Regions from separate parts of the Homo sapiens genome. Here all the other regions are linked to region 1. The links are contacts of gene promoters, found by promoter capture Hi-C in human tissues and cell types (Jung and others, 2019). All regions are on one chromosome and are shown on one strand. Each heading gives the region's core, a stretch centred on a gene start or on the middle of the fragment in contact. The rest is flanking DNA. Distances are from core to core; before and after follow the strand shown. Region 1 holds the start of SF3B5 (splicing factor 3b subunit 5). Region 2 has its middle 16 kb from the start of TRL-TAA1-1. Region 3 overlaps ZC2HC1B (zinc finger C2HC-type containing 1B).

Region 1 (3,596 bases), core at 501-3,000:
ATTTTAGGAGTGAAACATTTGTTATAACGAAGTTTAAACAGCAGAATAAAATTATTTTCAAGTTATCTCCTTCCCAGTAAAGTTTTCCTTCTCTTCGGTTGTAATAATTTATCCATTTATCAAATTTTTGTTTTGGACTTTTTTTTTTTAAAAAAAGGATCTTTTTTTCAAGTAGCTTCTACCCATGTAAGGAAGTTATTAAACCAAACAGTAGGACATAAAGCAATAATAAGGAAGAGACGTATAACTTGCAAAGAGGAAAGAGAGTTTACATCTGTCTGGAGCAGCCAGAGAAAACTCTAAGGAGATGCATTTGAGCTGCCTTTAAAGGGAGATGCGTTCACCAAGGGAACAGACATTCCACGTAGAGGGAATAGCTTGTACAAGGAAATGGGGATGGACACAACAGGTAACATGGAGAAATACAGTTGTCCCTCAGTATTCGTGAGTGATTTGTTCCAGGACCCCCATGGATACCAAAACTAGAGGATGCTCAAGTCCCTGATATAAAACGGCTTGTATTTGCATATACGCACATCCTCCTGTATAGTTTGTCTCTAGATTATTTAACATACCTAATACAATGTAAATGCTATGTAAATAGTTGTTATACTGTATTGTTTAGGGAATAATAACCTTAAAAAGTCTGCATTTCGGTACAGACTGATATTTTCCCCCAATATTTTCAATCAGGTTGGTTGAATCCACAAAACCCACTGAATGGAAGAGCCAAGTAGGGTGAGGTGAGGCCTTGGAGGGAGGATATCAAAATAAGTGGCTAGAGAGGAAGGAGGAGCTTGAGGTGGAAGCCGGAATGTGTGGGAACTGGTGCTGTACTTGCTCACCAAGCACCCTGGTTAGAGCTGAAATAACTCTTTTATGCCACAAACTCCTAAGAGACATAGTTGGGACCAGAACTGGCGCCTGCTGACTTCTGGGTAATCCATCCCCGGTTGTGAAGGGACGGCCGTGCCGCCACGACGGCTCCGAAATACACCAAGAGTTTATTTTCGGGGCTGCTCGTAGTCCAGTCATTCTTGGGTTTCCCATTTCCTATCAGCCCCAAGCCACCCACGGATGCTCCCCACCTCCAGACATCGCCCTCCACTAGGTCCCCAGATCACTTTTAAAACGCGACCAGGGGCCGGGCGCGGTGGCTCACGCCTGTAATCCCAGCACTTTGGGAGTCCGAGGCGGGCGGATCACGAGGTCAGGGGTTCGAGACCAGTGAAACCCCGTCTTTACTAAAAATACAAAAAAACTAGCCGGGCGTGGTGGTGTGCAACTGTCATCCCAGCTACTCGGGAGGCTGAAGCAGGAGAATCGCGTGAACCCAGGAGGCGGAGGTTGCAGTGAGCCGAGATCGCGCCATTGCATTGCAGCCCGGGCAACAGTGCAAGACTCCGTCTTAAACAAACAAACAAACAAACAACAGAACGCGACCAGGAGTCCCGGAAGCCTGCGTGCACGAACTCCCAAGACCACAAGTCCCAGCATGCAACGCTCCTTGTTGGAAAAGGGCCTCCCTTAGCCACTAAGTGGACCATCATGCAACATTCTCTGATGGGGCGGGGATCTCCATGGAGGGGGGAGGCACACTTGTTGCGTCGCCTCAGCAACTCCAATTGCGTGACAGAATGTGCTTCCGCTTCCGCCTCTGAGCCCTATGAGCGAGAGTTACGCTACTTAGTCGTTGTGACGCCATTCTTCTGCGACGGCGCGGACCTGGAGCTTCCGCGCGGTGGCTTCACTCTCCTGTAAAACGCTAGAGCGGCGAGTTGTTACCTGCGTCCTCTGACCTGAGAGCGAAGGGGAAAGCGGCGAGATGACTGACCGCTACACCATCCATAGCCAGCTGGAGCACCTGCAGTCCAAGTACATCGGCACGGGCCACGCCGACACCACCAAGTGGGAGTGGCTGGTGAACCAACACCGCGACTCGTACTGCTCCTACATGGGCCACTTCGACCTTCTCAACTACTTCGCCATTGCGGAGAATGAGAGCAAAGCGCGAGTCCGCTTCAACTTGATGGAAAAGATGCTTCAGCCTTGTGGACCGCCAGCCGACAAGCCCGAGGAGAACTGAGACTCTGCCTTACCACCGCAGTGCGGGGCACCTCTCCCAGCGTTTCTCCGGTTTGCCAATCCTCTTAAGTATTCCTGTCTCCAAAGGACCGGCTCTCCATGGCTCCTGCGCCTCGTGCTTTCCGCGTACAGAAGTGCTTGCCCGGGGAGTCCCGCCTGACCTGCCTTCATGTGGACCCTTAGAACAGCACTGGGAGACCAGCAGGACTCCTGAGAACTGTGCTGGTGGAGAGGTCCTAGAGCCGGCGAGCGTTTGAGAAGAGGGCATGGCGCTGGAGTGAGATGGGATTTGGCGTCTCGTTTTTGGCTAATTGATTGTCATTGGCTTTTTCCATAAAGTTTAGAAATCGTTCAGTCTCTTGGTGTGAACTTTCTGTGTTAGGGTGGAAGGCTCCGGAAAGAGCTGAGCGGGAAGTGGGTTTGGGTGAGGGAGCGCATGCCAGTGTCCATGGCCAGGCACTTAGATCCGCCGTGTCTACCTTTATAATTAATTCCCCGACTGCCACTTTTCCCAAGAGCGTTATTTTCAGGCCCACAATGCCTTCAGTATTGAAATTTGTGGTTATTGTATCCCATCTTCTTTTTCTCCTGTTTTAAAACTCTTTGCAGTCTTTGCTGTCATTGTCCTCCCTAGCCTCTTTAAAATGCATCCTTTTTTTTTTCTTGGGAATTTGTGGCCATGTCTCCAGAAATGACAAGCTGGCAAGCGAGTTCATCCATTCTACATTCAACAAATATTTGTTGAGCTCTATGTGACAGGCATTTTCCCGTGTTCTTGGGGCTTACATTATGCTGGTGGTGGAGAAAGGAGGTCAAACACTAGATGTAATAAGCAAATGTTAGAAGATGCTGCGGGGAGGGGAGAACAATGTATGTGGTGCGGGTGGGAGTAGCTGGTAGGGCTGTAATCTTAAATATGATGCACAAGTTACTGAGATGGTGACATTTGAGCAAAGACTTCAGGAAAATGAGGGAAATGGCCATGCGGAAAACTGGAGAAATTGCTTTCCATGAAGAGGGAACTGCCAGTGCAATGGTACTAACGCTGGGAGTATGTATGGTTTATTGGAGGAACTTCAAAGAGGCAAGCATGGCTGGAGGGAGTGAGTAAGGGGAAAAGTAGAGGGACAGGTAATGGAGGGGAAAACAGAGTAGAGTCTTGTAGGACAATATATGAACCTCTGAGGAGCCATTGGAAGGTTGTGGTTTTTTTTAATTTTAGTTTTTAAAAACACGAGATGGATCTTGATATGTTGGCCAGGTTGGTCTTGAACTCTTGGCCTCAAGCAGTCCTCCCACTTCAGCTTCCCAAAGTGCTACGATTACAGGTGTGAGCCACCACTGCAGACCATTGGAAGGTTTTTACGCAGAGAAGTCACGTGACCTGGCATAGCTTAGCTCAGTGGTGGCTTTGGAACTCCAGGCTGGAGTGCAGTGGCACGATCATGGCCCACTGCAGCCTCAACTTCCAAGGCTCAAGCAATCCTCCCACCTCAGCCTCCCAAGTAGTT
Region 2 (4,176 bases), core at 1,342-3,841, 140 kb before region 1:
GTCAGGATACGTCACTATCCCTGCACAGGAAGCTCCCCCAAGCCTTAGTGCCCAGAGTTTTAATTGAGGTCTCATTATGTAGACATGATTGATTGAATCATTGGCCACATGATTGAAGTCTCCAGCCCCCTTCCCCACCCTGGAGGTCAGGCTAATATCACTGTTATTCAAAGACCCAACCCTCTAGTCACATGACCGGTCTTCCCAGCATGCCTAGTTCCCATTCTGAGTGATTGCCTTAGAGTAAACTCAGGTGTGGTCCAAGGGGCCGCCATGAATAACAAAGACACTACTATCACTGGAGGGAATTCTAAGCATTTTAAAATCTCCCTCTCAGGAACTGGAGACAAATGCCAGCCAAATCCTTTCTTATAGAACAGTTGCATATTGCAATCACTTAAGAAGGTTTTTTAAAATGTTCACGCCTGGACCCCACCAGAAGAGTCTCATTTAATTGGTCTGGGGAACGACCTGAATATGAAGATCTTTAAAACCCCCAGATGATTCTAACATACTGCTTTGTTCCATTCAGGCTGCTGTTTTAAAATACTGTAAATTGCATGGCTTATAAACAGCAGACATTTATTTCTCACAGTTCTGGAGGCTGGGAAACTCAAGATACAGGCACCAGCAGATTTTGTGTCTGGTGAGGACCTACTTCTTAATTCATAGATAGCTGTCTTCTTGCTGGATCCTTAAACAGTAGAAAGGGCAACGGAGCTCTCCGGGACCTCTTTTATAAAGGTATTAATCCCATTTATGAGGACTACACCCTCATGACCTAATCACATCCCAAAGGCCTCATCTCCAAATATCACATTGGGTATTAGGATTTAACATATGAATTAGGGTGGGTACACAAACATTCAGTCTGTAGCACATACCCTATAAGCTGTGCTGCTGACTCTCCTTCATCCTCTTTGTATGAACTCCTAAGATCTGTGTGCTCCTTCAAATTAAATTGGAATTGTTAGTTTAGTTAATAGAGCTCACAACATGCCACTTGGCTGGGGCCAGACATCTTATGATCCAAGTTAAGTCTAGGGCCTCTGTGTTGCACAACTCCAGGGGGCTCTATTCATATTATACTCTGTGTAAATGGCGCCCCTGGATTTATGCAGTGTACACACTACACCATGTAATGGGGCAAAGTCTTGTTCAGTCACCACCCATCAAGTTTACACCAAGCAAATTTGCCAAATGACCAACTTATCAGGTTTATCAATTTTACTTACATATTTATTAGCCCTATCAGGAATATTTTCATAGTTCTATCAGCTTTAGATTTTAAGTTTAAGACCATCTAAAAGTAAATCAGAATTTAGCTAAAATGATCTTCTATATTAAGAAGAAAATATGGACTAAAGGATTCCCATAGGAGATGCTGAAATTTTGAAAAGTTGAACATCTTGTGAAAGCCCATAGTGAATTTAACATTCTTATTAAATTCACTATTAGCAAATTTTGTAAATTCATGTAAATCTGATATGTCAGATTATTCTATAAGTTAGCTTTCAGAAAACTGGCTTTCAGTGAGTGGGAATTCTTGAAATTGTTTTCTCAGCTTCTTCTTGTGAGAAAGAAGGATTTTTTTTAATTATCTAAAACAATTGCTTATGTGAGAATGAGTTATACCCTAGTATTTTCCACCAAGATTTCCTTGTATAGAATGCAATTTGGAGATTTCATTTTGAAAACATTTAAAATAGAAAGGGCAGGAATAAAGTGGATTAAAATATGAACCACTTGTGAGAACCAAGGCTTTTTCCCCAGGGCCTGGGAGGTGCTCCCCGGCAATGAAACAATAAACTTTTGCAGCAGAAAAAAAATTTAGCAAAACTTGGCAACTATGGTGGAGTAAGAGGTTGTACTCAACATTAAGGTCCCAATGCGATACATTTCCTAAGCATAAACAGTGATTGCCTTTATCCTTACAAAGTCAATTCAAGGTACTTATGTGGGGCATTTTTTGTTCATCTACCTGAGGAAAAAAAAAAATTAGAAAGCTCTTTCTACCTCATACTAGAATAGGAAATAATTTTTAGCAATCTTCCTTTTCTTTTTCCCCCCTTTTTTCAAGGAAAGAGGATTCAAATTTGTGGCTATGATTGTATTTTAAGCTACCTAAGAAAATTGCTCGTGAGAAAACAGTTGCCTTCTAAAAATAAACCAAAGCAACCTAATACAAACATCTCTAGCCCTGGCTTTGAAAGTTCTGTCTGAATTCCAAGCCTCTAGTTTTCAGTTTGTTTCTGAGTTTGTTGATGAACTAGCCAAGCCTAAGGATTGACATTGCAGGACTCCATAAAAATCCTTACAAATATACAGGTATGGTTGGTTGCTTTTGAAAAATAAAATTTCCCAGCTCATTCCACAATCTCAATGATCTCATACTGCTAGAGGATCTGGAAATACAGAGCCAAAGTTAAGGGTTCCAGCAGTCGGTTTCCAAAGCGTCATTGGAGTGGGCTAAAGGTGCACATTAGTTAGGCTTTTACACCTCCTGTTCCTTTTCAAGAGCGTGATTAATTACAGTGATTTATCTGTGAAAAGTGCAGCTTGGAGTTGGATGTGGGGAAGCCACAAAATGGTGTCAATGCTTCAGCCTGGAGTAAATGGTGAAATATATTTAGCAAGCAATAATGCCAGGCACTGAGAAACAGAAATAAATAGAAGAAACTGTCTTTACATGAATAGAGAACTTTACACAATACCATGTATTCACAAAAAGGAAATAATTATAGAAAATACAAACAGAGGGAAAAAAAAACAGAAAGTCTTCCAAGTTCCAAATTTCCATTCTGATTCTAGCTCCAAAACGGCAGGTCAGTTTCTCAGGAACTTTATTCCTTCCCATTTTCCAGCCTCTCTTCATGTGTCAGTGACAAATTCTAGATAAAATGAAAAAGTGGCTTAGATGATAATACCTTCCCGGGTCAAGGCCAATGTGAAGATTCAAGCCAGGGTTAAGATTGGAGTTAGTGATTCCCTTCCTTTTCCCAGATGCGCCTAAAGAAGGACTTTGGCAGGACTGTGGAGCCTGACATAAAGAAGGTTTTCCCTTCCAAAAAATGCTGCTTTCCTAGTTTTGCTTTTCTCTAACATAGATTGGGCTTGCACACAAGTATTAATTTACTTCAAAGGACTTGGAAAGTCTAATCAAACAACTGACTTTACAACTGACTTTGCCAAGGAATGCAAACAAAAGCCAGCCAAATTAGTTTGTGTGCAGAGATATATCCAAGGATATATCTAATATCACTTAAATGTGAGCTTTCTTGGCCTGGCAAGGTGGCTTACGCCTGTAATCCCAGCATTTTGGGAGGCAGAGGTGGGCAGATCACTTGAGATTAGGAGTTCAAGACCAGCCTGGTCAACATGGTGAAACCCTGTCTCTACTAAAAATACAAAAATTAGCCGGGCATGGTGGCACATGCCTGTAATACCAACTACTTGGGAGGCTGAGGCACGAGAATCGCCTGAACCTGGGAGGTGGAGATTGCAGTAAGCTGAGATCACGATGCCACTGCACTCCAGCCTGAGCGACAGAGTGAGACTCCATCTCAAAAATAAATGCACTTTCTGTAGTACTCTCAGAGACCCTCTTCTCACCATCCTCTCTTCTTGCATAATTGTATTCAGGCCTTTGCTTCCTTTGCCACCTATATATTGATGACTCCCATCTTATTACTCTCTCGAGTTTTAATCTCATACATTTGAGGATCTTTGGAGAAGCAGAGAATGAGGGATCCAGAGCCTTCAGTTTTAGAAACTCTTTTGCTCCTTCAATGTTCTAAAGAAACTTAAAAATAAATATACATACAAGCTGTTGTCTGCTCTGCTTGGCACCATAATGTTCATATTATTGGCTGTATTTTCAATTAGATACATTTTCTTCTAAGCTGATTGATATGGTTTGGGTCTGTGTCCCCACCCAAATCTCATGTCTAGTTGTAATCCCCAATGTTGGTGGTTGGGCCTCGTGGGAGGTGATTGGATCATGGGGGCGGGCGTCCGTTTTGGTGCTGTTCTCATGATAATAAGTGTGTTGTCACATGATCTGGTTGTTTAAAAGTGTGTAGCACCTCCCCACTCTCTCTTCTCTCCTGCTCCAGCCATGTCAGATGTGCCTGCTTCCCTTGGCTTTCCACTACGATTGAAAGTTTCCCGAGGCCT
Region 3 (3,817 bases), core at 1,300-3,799, 160 kb after region 1:
CCTTGTCTGAGTTTTGCTCCAGAAGCAGGGTCCATAGCTAATCCTTTGCAAACATAAACAGATTTGTTATTATGTCAAAGCAGAACATTACCAAGAAAAAAAGACATGATTGTGAAATCCCCACATGGGTTCAAAAGTTTCTATTCTTCCTTTTTTTTGGTGGGAGGTGGGGGAGTGTGGTGGGGAGGGCAATGAGGGTGGGGTAGCTACAGACAAATAACCAAATAAGGAAAACAGGGGCTACCTCAGGTGCCTTCTTTCCTCTGCCCCTAACCTCTGTTTATTCATGGACTTTGGACTGCACCTCAAGTGACCCACCCTTTATACACTAGGACTTTCGACATCCCCTCCGCTATTGCCCCAGCTTTCAAAATGGACCCTGATATTTTGGATCTTCAAATTATTTGCTAGCTCTCACATGAGAAGACTTTGCTAAGCCTTACGGAAGCATAAGCTGCCTTCCCTGCTTAGGGTTATCTACGTGACAATGGATTCATTCCACAAACAGTATTCTTTTCCCTTGAGCCCAGCAGTGTTGTTAGGTATGGAGATACACAAGTTTATGGATATGGGCACACCACACCATGGCTTAGTTTTGACCACATCGTAGGGGACAGGATTCTCAGAGGTTCTTTTTTTTGTTAAAAAATAAAAAAGGAACAAGTCCCCTCTGTCCTAAGAAGCCTCCTTTCTACTCAGTGTTTTATGAAGGAGCAATAACAAGGAAATTGTGAATCAAACTCTCAAAGGACATAGGAATAGAAAGAGCTTTCAGTGTTAGTTTTACTGAAACATAAACTGGTTTTACTTCTGCCAAAGAATCCACAACTGTGATGCTCAACAGGTTTGCTACACAACTAAATTAGGTAAAGAATGGAATGCTAGTGCAGGTAAAATGCTTAACTTGATAAAAATCCACTGGCTCCAGAAGTAAAGTAGAGCCCACACCAGCAAAGCTGTACAAATGCAATCCACTACTAAATATACAAAGCAATGCAGGTCTAGATCCCAGAACTACATGCTCATAGTGACATTAGTCTCTGTACGAAGATCTCAGAGAAGCAGCTTCTTGGCAGTACCTTCCAGTATATCCATCATTCATATAACAAAAGCCTCCAGAAAACAGCCATCAGTACATATTTGCTGACTAGGCTATACACTCATTCCCCATCTGAACATTAGAATCTTTTAGGAATGCGAGAAGAGCCACTTCTTTTTCTAAAATAATTTCCAAATATGTATCAATAGCCTTAATATTTATATTTTTGGACCCATTTTTCCCAAAACGTACAAAGCTCTGCTCCTTCCTATTAAATAGCTTGCCCATGTTGCTTAACCTCTCTGTGCTTTCCTCATCTGTAAAATAGAGATATGAATAGTACATCGACCTCCTCACGCTATTGTGAGAATTAAATGAGTTCATACGCCAGTTGCTTAACTGGCATGGTAACTTCACTTAATACCAGGTGCTCTTTTTGTATTAGAAGTTTTCCTGTGCATGCTATGTCTTCTCATAAGACTCTGGGATCAATAAGGCTGTTGACTTGTACACACATGTGTCTCCTCTGGTATGAATTTTAAAACTGTTATATGTGGGAGGTACAAGATACTAAATGCTTATTTTACTCAAGAGAGTTGAAGGATGAAAGCCCGAGTTTTAGGAGGCTAACTGCTATCTAGATGAAAGACAACAACTAGATTTATAATATATGATACCATAAGTAGATATTACTTAAAAAAGAAGACAGGGGCAGTGGCTCACACCTGTAATGCCAATACTTTGAGAGGCCAAGGCAGGAGGATTGCTTGAGCCTAGGAGTTCAAGACCAGTCTGGGAAACATAATACCTCACCTCTACAAATAAAAAAAATTATCTGGGTATGGTGGTACATGCCTGTCATCCCATATACTCAGGAGGCTGAGGTGAGAGGGTCACTTGTACCCAGGAAGTCAAGGCTGTAGAGAGCTTTGATCAAGCTACTGCACTATAGCCTGGGCGACAGAGAGATCCTGTCTCAAAAAAAAAAAAAAAAAAAAAAAAAAAAGAGTGATACCAAGTGGCCTAAACTACTGATTGTCAATCTGAATATATTAATAGCAATAACAAAAAACCCAACAACAACAATTTTTAAAGACCTTTATTTTTATATAGCATTGTATAATGAAAAGAAAAAAAAAGACCCTTATGAGCTGCCCTGACCCCTGCCACAGAAACCCATGCAAACCCTCACTGGGCCTGAGGACAGGGCCACCCACCCTGCTGGCACCAATGGACACTGACTGGGAGCCTGGAGATTGAGCAGCCCTGACCATCACAGCCTGTGCTTGTGCCCACCATTGGGAAGCTGATGACAGGCTTGACCCATGTGGTGTCATGCCCACCAGTGCTTCTGTGCATTGTTGGGGCCTGGGGATCAACCCACCCTGCCTGTGGTCAGCTCACCCTGCCTGTGGTCAGCTTCTACCCACCCCTACCAGGTGCCTGAGGGTGAGTCTGCTCAGCCTATTGGTACCTGCATACATCATCCATGGACTTGGAGATTGACCCACCACCACCAGCATCTGCAGCGTCCACATACTCCTCCTAGGGGACTAAGGATGGGGCCGCCCAGCTCACTACTGCCACCACTAGTACCCTATGGATACTGCCTAGGAGCCAGAGGGTTGGTCTACCACCATCAATGTTATTGGCAACCCCATGCATGCCACCCAGGAACCTGAAGAGCCACCCACCATCGCCACTGCTGGCACCTGAGCAAGCCATCTGGAGGTCCAAAGATTGGTCTGCCTGGACCTGCTAACACCAGTGCCCACGTATGCTACCTGGGGTCCCAAGGACAGGCAGGCTCAGTCTACTGCTGCCACCACTGAGGCCTGAAGACCAGCTCACCTTGTGTCCCCATCCCCAGCAAAGCCTCACCACAGCTTCCAATAACAACTGCAGTTTAAGTCACTAAGGAATTCATAGACACCACTGATAGTAATTACAGCCAAAAAATCATGGACACGCAATTACTGTATGCTCCAGTATCAAAGCTAAAGTGCCCTACCCAACTATCACTATAGATACATATGTAGGAAGAAGTCTTTCCTATGAAGGCCAATTCAAAAATTGGAAGAAGTGACTGTTACACCAGATGCAGAGATATTGGCATAGGAACACAAGAAACATAAAAATGCAAGAAAATATGACTCCTCCAAAGGAATACAATTCTCCAGCAACAGATTGCAACAAAAAAATTGATGAAATGCCAGAAAAGGAATTCAAAATCATAATATTAAAAAAGCATATTGAAAGAGAGGGAAGATGGCAGATAGGGGACAGGGCTGATAAGTAGCTCCCACTTGGATGGACAGAACAGCGTGTGGACACTCACTCTGTGGTCGTTTGCTCCAGGAACAACTGCAGGAGCATACCAGGAAAAACAAAAGAAATCACAGATCCTTTGAAAGAAGTGGCAGGCTATTGCAAATTCTGCAAGACAGGTGAAAATTCGTAAGTTCCCAAAGTCTGAGAGGGGACACATCTGCTTCCAAGCACACGTCCCCACTGAGGAACCTGAAAAATCCAGATTACGGGAGAAGAATTTAGCCTTACCTAGAGCTGAAATTGATTTGCTGTGAAATGTAAAAGTAGAAGCAGCAGTGGGACAAGCCTTGTAGGCAGTCCCATTCTCCAGCTCAAGCCCAGGGAAGCCATCCCTGACTCTATCTCACAAGAGCCCTCGGGGAAGGCAACTGGCAGAATTTGAGAGGGGTCACAGGGTGAAAGAAGCTTCCAACTGAACTTTGTAATAATTTTGACTGGGTGCAAACC

The links. Contacts are between HindIII fragments. The study calls those that stand out against the background at their distance.
Region 2: a fragment that was not itself captured here is called in contact with the fragment with the promoter of SF3B5 in region 1 in 2 of the 25 tissues and cell types used here (mesendoderm cells and spleen).
Region 3: a fragment that was not itself captured here is called in contact with the fragment with the promoter of SF3B5 in region 1 in 1 of the 25 tissues and cell types used here (thymus).

What each region holds. Positions count from the first base shown.
Region 1 is chr6:144,093,727-144,097,322 of GRCh38, reverse strand. SF3B5 (splicing factor 3b subunit 5) reads left to right here and starts at 1,750. Exons shown (of 1, transcript NM_031287.3): 1 at 1,750-2,439. The coding sequence starts at 1,826. The coding sequence ends at 2,086. RefSeq lists an enhancer at 1,301-2,000. The HindIII fragment of the contact is 26,090 bases long and covers 1-3,596 here.
Region 2 is chr6:144,230,655-144,234,830 of GRCh38, reverse strand. No RefSeq gene overlaps it. Among named protein-coding and RNA genes, the nearest start is that of TRL-TAA1-1, 16 kb to the right of the region's middle. The HindIII fragment of the contact is 8,996 bases long and covers 1-4,176 here.
Region 3 is chr6:143,933,875-143,937,691 of GRCh38, reverse strand. It overlaps ZC2HC1B (zinc finger C2HC-type containing 1B), which reads right to left. Exons shown (of 8, transcript NM_001013623.3): 7 at 1-43. Among named protein-coding and RNA genes, the nearest start is that of ZC2HC1B, 71 kb to the right of the region's middle. The HindIII fragment of the contact is 3,034 bases long and covers 1,033-3,817 here.